Regions from separate parts of the Homo sapiens genome. Here all the other regions are linked to region 2. Evidence: promoter capture Hi-C in human tissues and cell types (Jung and others, 2019). All regions are on one chromosome and are shown on one strand. The core of a region is centred on a gene start or on the middle of the fragment in contact, and the rest is flanking DNA. Distances in the headings are between cores, read along the strand shown.

Evidence for each region. Contacts are between HindIII fragments. The study calls those that stand out against the background at their distance.
Region 1: a fragment that was not itself captured here is called in contact with the fragment with the promoter of DPYS in region 2 in 1 of the 25 tissues and cell types used here (hippocampus).
Region 3: a fragment that was not itself captured here is called in contact with the fragment with the promoter of DPYS in region 2 in 1 of the 25 tissues and cell types used here (H1 embryonic stem cells).

The regions. Positions count from the first base shown.
Region 1 is chr8:104,284,690-104,287,753 of GRCh38, forward strand. No RefSeq gene overlaps it. Among named protein-coding and RNA genes, the nearest start is that of DCSTAMP, 54 kb to the right of the region's middle. The HindIII fragment of the contact is 4,105 bases long and covers 1-3,064 here.
Region 2 is chr8:104,465,481-104,468,985 of GRCh38, forward strand. It overlaps DPYS (dihydropyrimidinase), which reads right to left and starts at 1,575. Exons shown (of 10, transcript NM_001385.3): 1 at 1,177-1,575. The coding sequence starts at 1,440. LOC105375691 (a long non-coding RNA gene) reads left to right here and starts at 290. Exons shown (of 3, transcript XR_928507.3): 1 at 290-507. RefSeq lists an enhancer at 3,329-3,505. The HindIII fragment of the contact is 4,558 bases long and covers 1-3,387 here.
Region 3 is chr8:104,673,905-104,677,314 of GRCh38, forward strand. No RefSeq gene overlaps it. Among named protein-coding and RNA genes, the nearest start is that of LRP12, 86 kb to the left of the region's middle. The HindIII fragment of the contact is 4,163 bases long and covers 1-3,410 here.

The sequences.
Region 1 (3,064 bases), core at 267-2,766, 180 kb before region 2:
AGGGAAAGGGAGTCTCTACAGAATGTAGATTTTTTCCCCATGAGAGAAAGCTTTGCAGGGCCATTTCAAAATATGTCAAATAAATATATTTTAGGGTAAAATGCTTCGATTTCATTCAGGGCCTGCTATTTGTCAAGTGATGCTATACTAAAGTCAGGCTGGGACTTGAAGCCTTATTGTTACAAGAAGTCTTAAGATGTCTGTTTTGATGTTAATGCTGGTCAGTTGTCCCTGAATTCCAAAGGGTGGAGGGCATAATGAGGCATGGCCAACACCCCTGACCCCGGCTTCCCATCCTGGCCTGAACTAGGTTTTCAGGTTAACTTTAGAATTCCCTTAGCTGAGAGGAGGGGTCCAATCAAAGGGCTGGAAGGCTTAGAATTTTATTTTTAGTTTACAAAAGCAATCATTTTGGCCATTATGGTCTGAATTAAATTGCCACTAGGAAAAACTATATATATTTTAAAGTTGGGATGATGCCATTGTGGTGGGATAATCTGGAAGAAGCTTAATTTGTGTTAACTTATTTCTATTTATTCTTAATATTTGCCTATATCCCCCCTGCTATAACATAGCTCCCTGAATACAGGAATACTTGTCTGTTTTGTTCCTGGATATTTCTCCAGCTCCTAGAAAGTGCCTGACCTGGAGAAGGTGCTCATGAAGCATCCAATGAATCAGTGTTTCTTCTACTTGTGGGACTGTCCTACCAGTCCCCTATTGACTCCAGTAGGGATGGCACCATGTCTGAGAGGCCAAAGAAGAGACCTGGAGACAGAAGGTTTATTAGCATGGAGGGGGTGGGAACTTACATACAGAGAAATCCAGCGGAGGCAGGCTGGACAGGAGAACTACTATTGTTTGTAAACAGCATGTTGTGTATAAAACATTTTCACTTAGCACCCTCTACCTGGCAACCTCCATTTAACCCAAAACAAAGGGCCTCAACTCCCTCTATGGCCTGTGTTCCAAAGAATGGGCAGAGGTTTCAGACGACCATCACAGATAAAGCAAATCTCTGGGTTGGCCACTGCCACTCTTAGATTCTGTGAAAGGAAAATCTTGGGGTCCCCAAATTACTAAACTAAAGGGAAAAGTCAAGCTGGGGACTGCTTAGGTCAAACCTCCCTCCCATTCTATTCAAAGTCATCCCTCTGCTCACTGAGCTAGAGGCAGATCTGACTGCCTCCTTCAAAAAGGCTTCAGAAATTCAATATGAAACTGTCAGGCCTCTGAGCCCAAGCCAAGCCATCGCATCCCCTGTGACTTGCACGTATACATCCAGATGGCCTGAAGTAACTGAAGATCCACAAAAGAAGTAAAAATAGCCTTAACAGATGACATTCCACCATTGTGATTTGTTCCTGCCCCACCCTAACTGATCAATGTACTTTGTAATCTCCCCCACCCTTAAGAAGGTTCTTTGTAATTCTCCCCACCCTTGACAATGTACTTTGTGAGATCCACCCTGCCCACAAAACATTGCTCTTAACTTCACTGCCTATCCCAAAACCTATAAGAACTAATGATAATCCACCACCCTTTGCTGACTCTCTTTTCGGACTCAGCCCGCCTGCACCCAGGTGAAATAAACAGCCATGTTGTTCACACAAAGCCTGTTTGGTGGTCTCTTCACACGGATGCACATGAAATTTGGTGCCGTGACTCGGATCGGGGGACCTCCCTTGGGAGATCAATACCCCGTCCTCCTGCTCTTTGCTCCGTGAGAAAGATCCACCTACGACCTCAGGTCCTAAGACCGACCAGCCCAAGAAACATCTCACCAATTTCAAATCCAGTAAGCGGCCTCTTTTTACTCTCTTCTCCAACTTCCCTCACTATCCCTCAACCTCTTTCTTCTTTCAATCTTGGCGCTACACTTCAATCTCTCCCTTCTCTTAATTTCAATTCCTTTAATTTTCTGGTAGAGACAAAAGAGACATGTTTTATCCGTGGACCCAAAACTCCAGCGCCTGTCATGGACTGGGAAGGCAGCCTTCCCTTTGTGTTTAATCATTGCAGGGATGCCTCTCTGATTATACACCCATGTTTCAAGGGTGTCAGACCACGCAGGGACACTTGCCTTGGTCCTTCACCCTTAGCGGCAAGTCCCGCTTTTCTTGGGAAGGGGCAAGTACCCCAATCCCTTCTCTCCTTGTCTCTACCCCTTCTCTGCTTCTCTGGGGAAGGGGCAAGTACCCCAACCCCTTCTCTCCTTGTCTCTACCCCTTCTCTGCTTTTCTGGGGAAGGGGCAAGTACCCCTCAACCCCCTTCTCCTTCACCCTTAGCGGCAAGTCCCGCTTTCCTAGAGGGCAAGAACCCCCCCAATCGCTTATTTCTGCACCCCAACCTCTTATCTCTGTGCTCCAATCCCTTATTTCCACACCCTGACCTTTTATCTCTGTGCCCCAATCCCTTATTTCCATGCCCCAACCCCTTCTCTGCTTTTCTGGAGGGCAAGAACCCCCCACCCCTTCTCCGTGTCTCTACTCTTTTCTCTGGGCTTGCCTCCTTCACTATGGGTAAGCTTCCACCTTCCATTCCTCCTTCTTCTCCCCTAGCCTGTGTTCTCAAAAACTTAAAACCTCTTCAACTCACACCTGACCTAAAACCTAAATGCCTTATTTTCTTCTGCAATGCCGCTTGACCCCAATACAAACTCAACAGTAGTTCCAAATAGCCAGAAAATGGCACTTTGAATTTTTCCATCCTGCAAGATCTAAATAATTCTTGTTGTAAAATAGGAAAACGGTCTGAGGTGCCTGACATCCAGGCATTCTTTTACACATCAGTCCCTTCCTAGTCTCTGTGCCCAGTGCAACTCATCCCAAATCTTTCTTCTTTCCCTCCTGCCTGTCCCCTCAGTCCCAACCCCAAGCGTCACTGAGTCTTTCTAATCTTCCTTTTCTACAGACCCATCTGACCTCTCCCCTCCTCGCCAGGCCGAGCTAGGTCCCAATTCTTCCTCAGCCTCCGCTCCTCCACCCTATAATCTTTTTATCACCTCCCCTCCTCACACCTGGTCCGGCTTGCAGTTTTGTTCCATGACTAGCCCTCCCCCAC
Region 2 (3,505 bases), core at 325-2,824:
ACTTAGGGAGGATGTGGGCTTTACTTTAGCCCAAGTGCTGAGAGTAGAATTTTTACTCTATGTTCCTGTAAAGCTGCTCTGTTAGTCTCTTGATCTTGTGTTGAGGAGCTTTGGGGAAATGTTGCAGGGGTGTCCAATCTTTGGCTTCTCTTGTCTTGGGCCACACATGAAATATACTAACACTAACGACAGCCAATGAACTAAGAAAAAAAATCTCATAATGTTTTAAGAAAGTTTATGAATTTGTGTTGGGCCGCATTCAAAGCTGTCCTGGGCTGCATGCGGCCTACAGGTTGGACAAGTTTGGTTTAAGTTTCCTTTCATTGACCCAAACTTCTAGGCCTTTGTATCTAGAGAAACCCAAGCCTACCTTCACCTGGGGAGTGGTGATCTGATTACCCTCCTGCAACATCAGTAAAACTATGGGTACTCCAGCAGCAAGAATGTTGTGTCCCCAGCGCAAGTGGGATGGAGAAAAGAGCCTGCTGCGAGGCTGCGTTGGTGTGTGTGAGTGTTGCGAGATCATTTCTGGAATACTTTCTCTTCTAAACCCTGGTCGGGGCTATATTTTTTCTACTGGGGGTGGGAGTGGGGGCAGAGGGTAGGGGACGGGAACGTGAACACGGTGGGCATCTAGCCTACTCAGACACATTACCTGCTACACTGCTCACTTTGAGTCAAGGCTGTAACTACCAGGTGAATGGATTTTTCATTTGGTTTTGGTTGGGGATAAAGGATGGGTCGAAATGGTTGGGAGAAATGGCTGGAAGTGCCTACTTTAAAAAAAGATTCTAAAGAATGTATGGAAGATTTGCGACTTCCACAGAACACCAATCAAAATGGGGTTGCGGGGAGATTTGGGGAGTAAGCGGTATAGAGAAATTAGGGTAAGGGGATGGCCTTAAACTCGTCAAATTAACCACTAAAGGAGGAGTCGAGGGCATCTGGTTGAGCCAAGGCTGCTCGGCTGCCGCCGAGAAGGGGCGCCTGAAAGGGACCCCAGCGAAGAGAATCTGAGTCCCCTCTGACACCCGCCGGGGCTGCGCTCCTTCCCGCCCACCCAGCTCCTCGGCGCCGCGCCGCGCGAGGCGGCCCTGCTGAGGACCCCGGGACGACTGGGGAGGCTGCCCGAGCCTCCGTGGGTACCGCGGGGCGGGGGCGCGGCGGGGCGGGTACCTTGGTGCCCTGGTGGAAGTCGTCGATGGACCGCGAGCCCATGAAGGGGAACTGCATGTGCGTGTGTGTGTCGATGCCTCCGGGCAGGACGAGCTTGCCGGCGGCGTCGAGGACCCGCAGCCCCGCAGGAGCGCCCCCGGGAGGCAGCAGGTCGTGCCCGAGTGCCCGCACCACGCCGTCCTCCACCAGCACGTCGGCCACCTCCGAGAAGTCATCGTTGACCACGCGACCCCCGCGGATCAGGAGCCGCGAGGGCGCCGCCATAGCGAGGGGCGCGCGGGGTCCTACTCGGCCCGGGCTGCGCGCAGGGGCTGGGTTGGGCGGGCCGGGCGGGCTTGGGGTGCCCTCCTGCAAGGTCCCCACCGACAGCCCCCGAGCTCTGCCTCAGGCTGCAAATCCGGAGCCCGGCGGCCTGACGGGTTTATGACCTGGCCGCATATGCGGCTCCTCCCCCCGGGAAGGCTGGGCTGGAGCCCAAAGGCCGGGATTGAACAGGTCCGCATGGTCCTTGCACACTCAGACCCCAAGTGTTCTGCGCCCTGAGTTGAGGTATCCACCCAGGCTTCGGAGTCATTGGAAGGGAAAGATCTTGGAATTTTAAGAGAAAGGAACCTGCGTTTTTCATCATAAGATTAGGTGCTAAAGGGAAAGAAATCCACCTCACCCTTTCCCTTGGTTGGGGGTGTGTTTGTACCAAAAGACAGATCCAGAGGGAGAAAGAAAGCAAGAACCATCACTAGAAGCAGCAACAAAAATACCCAAACCCACCCAAGCCAGAACAGAGCCACTCGATCTGGGTTTCCTGTTAAATGTTCTTAAGCGAGGAGCAAATTATCATATAATCCCAGTAATTGGCAGACACAGGGAAGGATCAGAGTAAAATATTTAATGTATTTGAAAGAAAACGACTTGGTGTCAACTATTCTCCACAGTTTAATGATACAACACATACCAGCAAGTGTTTCTTGGAAAATAACCGGTACTGTAACTCTAAAGATTTAAATTTCTACTCCCAGCTTTTCCACAAAACCAGTTTAGAGATCTTCAGTTAAATCTTTTATTCTCTTGGTTCCTCAGTTTTCTCATATATAAAATTGATTAATACTTGTTCTTGCCTTCCATATTTGCTTTGAGAAGCAAATATGATCATGGCTGTGAATACACCCTAATAAAGTGGGAAGCACCATGCAAATTCACTTAAATACTGGCTTTGTAAGGACTACAAAGCTTACCTGACTAGGGGGATTGGCTAGAGGGCTAAGTGGGAAAGATAAACCACATTTCCACCCTCAAGTAGCTAACAGCCAACAGTGACACACATTCATATTTCAATATATAAAACAGAACATTCTATCTTTGAGAAGGGATAAAGATAAGAATTTAGAGGAAAGAGTGAGTTTATTTCTGGCTTAAAGACATCAGATATGGAAGATTTGTGAAGAGGTATTTGAACTAGGATACAGAGAATGTGAACACGCAGAGGTGAGTGGTGGGAAGAGGACATAGTGCTCCAGGTAGAGTGAACAGAGCGTGTAAAGGCACAGAGAGGATGAAGGAATGCACTCCCTGTGGTTAAGCTATGAGGGATAGGCTTACACTGAATCCTGGACCATCCCTTTGCTTATAGGGGAGGAGGAGGAAGAAGAGACAGAGTGGTCAGAGAGAAGGGAGACCACAGGTCTGTGTGATGGAAGGCAGGAATGCAGAATTTTAAGAAGGGCAACAGGATGGAATCTTGCAAAAGGGTTATGAAGGGTCATGGGGAGGTGGGGTGGACATCTGCTGACCAGGCATATATTCTTGTCCTTATTCTGGTAACAGTCACTGGCATTTCTTTGGTGGGAAATCCTCTGCCTGAAGTCTCAGAACACTTGTTTTGGAGAAACTGATGGTGAGAGACAGGACTAGCTGGATTTCCTAGGCTGACTAAGAATTCCTAAGCCTAGCTGGGGAAGGTGACTACACCTACCTTTAAACATGGGGCTTGCATCTCAGCTCACACCCTACCAGTCAGGTAGTAAAGAGGGCTCACTAAAATACAAATTAGGTTAAAAGCAGGAGGTAAAGAAATAGTCAAATCATATATCACCTGAGAGCACAGGAGGAGGGACAATGATCAGGATATAAACCCAAGCATTCCAGCAGGGAGCGGCAACCCCCTTTGGGTCCTCTCCCATTGTATGGGAGCTCTGTTTTCACTCTATTAAATTTTGCAGCTGCACACTCTTCTGGTCTGTGTTTGTTACGGCTTGAGCTGAGCTTTTGCTCACCATCCACCACTGCTGTTTGCTGCCGTCACAGACCCGCCGCTGACTTCCACCCCTCTGAA
Region 3 (3,410 bases), core at 656-3,155, 210 kb after region 2:
GTAATTCCACATATGTATTCACTTATATCTGTATAATAATTTTTATATCTTTTGGATATTTTTAGAGTTACTAGAGGAAGTGGATTAGAGAAGGCCAAATACCATGGAAAGCAATGTGCGTATGGCTTCCTTCTGGCATGGAATCTGTAGTGCAGTGGTTAAGAGCCTGGGTTCTTGTAGCAGGCTGCTGGGTATGAGCCTTGCTCCATCCCATTCTAGCTATGTAATATTAGGAAAGTCACTTAACCTGTCTGTTTCTCAGAGAATAATAATAGTACCTATCTGATAGGCACTACAAAATGAGAATAATAATAATACCTGGAAAACAAGAATAATAATAGTACCTATATGATAGGATTGTGAAAGGGTGTAAAATGGTAAGCTCTCAAAAATACTAGCTTTTATTACTATTTGTTAATTTCCTCTTTGGGCTCATATCATATCCTATCTTTTCCATTTTTTAGCTTGTGTCCTTACTGGCACTTGTGTCTTCCACATGTTTTCCATTTTGTATGTTTTTAATATGTTCATGTCAAGTCTCTATATCCCAAATATTGGCATTTTGTTTTATGTAGGACATGGTAATAATCATTAGTGGATGCAGAAGAAGCTCCAAATCCATTAATAACCAAGGCAACAGTATGATTCCATTCTTTTCCTTTGATTTTCTGCTACATATTGTTCAGAAATCCTTGATGTTGCCTACGAAGACTCCAAATCATCTATTATCATTGAATTTAGGGCTAAAATAAGTACATTTAATTGTAACCCAGTTAATAAAAAGTAAGTGCTGAGAAAAATTATTAAAAGCTTCTGTGTAATGATAATTGTATTCCTGAGCCTAACAATTGGGTTAGGATACAACAATTTTTGTATTGGTTAGAGCTATACCCTGCTTTGGTTTGACAGTCAGAGCCAAAGACACAGCAATCTTCCCTCAAATATTGGAAGGACTTTGTCCTCCTGAATGACTCTTTCAAATAATTTCTTTTATGACCAAACTTAGAAAGTAAATATCTATTCAGATGATGAAAAATACTAATGTTTGAAGAGCTATAAATATAAAATCATGAATGCCAACAAAACAAGGCATTGTACATATTATGAAATATAACTTAAGATTTTGGATCTCAATACTTGGAAACATTGAACTATGAACTATGTACTATTATTATCTTAGAAAGCTTTACTCCATTTTAGACGGACTATACCACTTCAAATGGGCTGTTGATGCAAAATGAGCAAAAAAAAGTGCATCAGTGGAACTTATTTTAGTGAAATATTAACTGGCCACATTTCAAAATTATATTCTATACTGTCCTGTGACCAAAGATGCTAAAGAACTTCCTATTTAAGAGTACCATGAAAGGGTATGGCTGGAGGGTGAAATAAGAAAAGACACAGAATGTATTGTATTTGTAGGAATTAAGAATAAAAATGTGCTTCAAACGGAATGTTGAATATCATCATAGCAACTACTTTTTTGATCAACAAGAATCATGAAAAACCAGAAGCTATGTCAGCTATGCTTTGGATAAAGTTACTGCTTTTTAAAAATCAAGTTAATGATTCACAACAGTAAAGACATAGAATCAACCTAGGTGCCCATCAACAGTGGACTGGATAAAGAAAATGTGGTACATATATACTATGGAATACTATGCAGTCATAAAAAAGAATGAAATCTTGTCCTTTGCAGCATGGATGCAGCTGGAGACCATTATCCTAAGCGAATTAACATGGGAACAGAAAACCAAATACCACATATTCTCAGTTATAAGTGGGATTTAAACACTGGGTATTCCTGGATATAAGGATGGCAACAGTAGATCCTGGGGACTACTAGAGTGGTAGGTAGGGAGGGTGACAAGGGTTGAAGAACTAACAATTGGGTACTATGCTCAGTAACTGGGTGATGTGATCATTTGTACCCCAAACCTCAACATCACACAATATACCTAGGTAACAAACGAGCACATGTACCCCCTGAATCTAAAATAAATATTGAAACAAAATCAAGTGAATAAATAAAAAATAAATAATAAAATTAATGTGATATAGGCATACTTCTATGATTCTCTATTGAACAGACCTTATTGAGAAAACAGTCAATCAAAAGTTGCCGATAAAGGTAAAGGATTGAACACACACATCTACAGTCTGCCCCTGAATTTCTAATTAATAACTGTAAAGGGATTTTTAAAGACTGTATGAGTTAGCTTTTCCTGCATAACAATATATGCCTGAAATAAAGTGGCTTTAAACAACAACCATTTATTTAGTTCAGATTCTGTGGATTTGCAATGTGAGCTGGGCTCAGATAAATGATTTTTTTGGTTTCAGTAGGGCTCCTTCATGTATTTGCAGTCAGCTGCAGGTCAAGTGCAGATTTGCTAATCTTGACTGAACTCCCATATCTCCCCAGCCTCATTTGGGACCTCTGAGTTGACTCAGGCTACCATCCAACACCAGGCCAGATCAAGCTTATCCATATGGAGAAGAAGGGGATCTTGAGAAAGTGAATGGAGTGTTTAGGGTCTCTTGAGATCTACCCTTTGATCAGATACATTGTCACTTCTACCTTATTCTGCTGGCTGAAGCAAGTCACAAGGCCTGTCCAGATTTAAGGGATGGAAAAATTGGCTTTGCCACTTTTTTAGTGGAGCTGCAAATTTACATTGCAAGGGGCATGAATATGAGGAGGAAATTACGGATATTTCTATATTTAATCTACCCGAATTGTATAAACCCACAAGGGCAAAGAGAACAGAGGAGAAAACAATAGAAATGAAATTTTGGAAGCTAGAAGGAAAATTAACGAGTAGCAATTGACTTTGAGACACTTGAGAAAGCTGAATCCTAAACTTGCAGTGGGGAGAGACAAGAAGCAATCCAGTGTACTAATGTAATCCATAGAATCTTCTAAAGTCTCAGAAATTGATATACCTGGTATACATGCCAGGTATTTATGGAAATGGGAAGATGAAGGTGGAGATAGAAACAGGAAGATTCATTGAAATTCTCTTTACGTAGTATTGCAGTTAGACATTCAGATTCTATCCCCCAGTCTGCCCAGTCATTAACTGCCATTGTCTCCCTATACTACCCCAGAGAAAACAGGAGGTTTAGTTTATGAAGTAGGTAAAAACAAGGGTTTCTGGACTTATTGACACCCTAAACACAATTGAGGATTGAGGTGTTGTGGTAGGGAAAATAATGGCTACCAAAGATGTCCACATCCTAATCCTCAGAACCTATGGATATGTTAGGTTACATGGCAAAGGGAAATTAAGGTTGCATGTGGAATTAAACTTGTGTCAGCTGACTTGAGATGAAAACTTAGCCTGTATTATCCTGGTGGGCCCAGTGTAATCACAAGGATCCTTATAGGAAGAGATGTGTGACAGGTC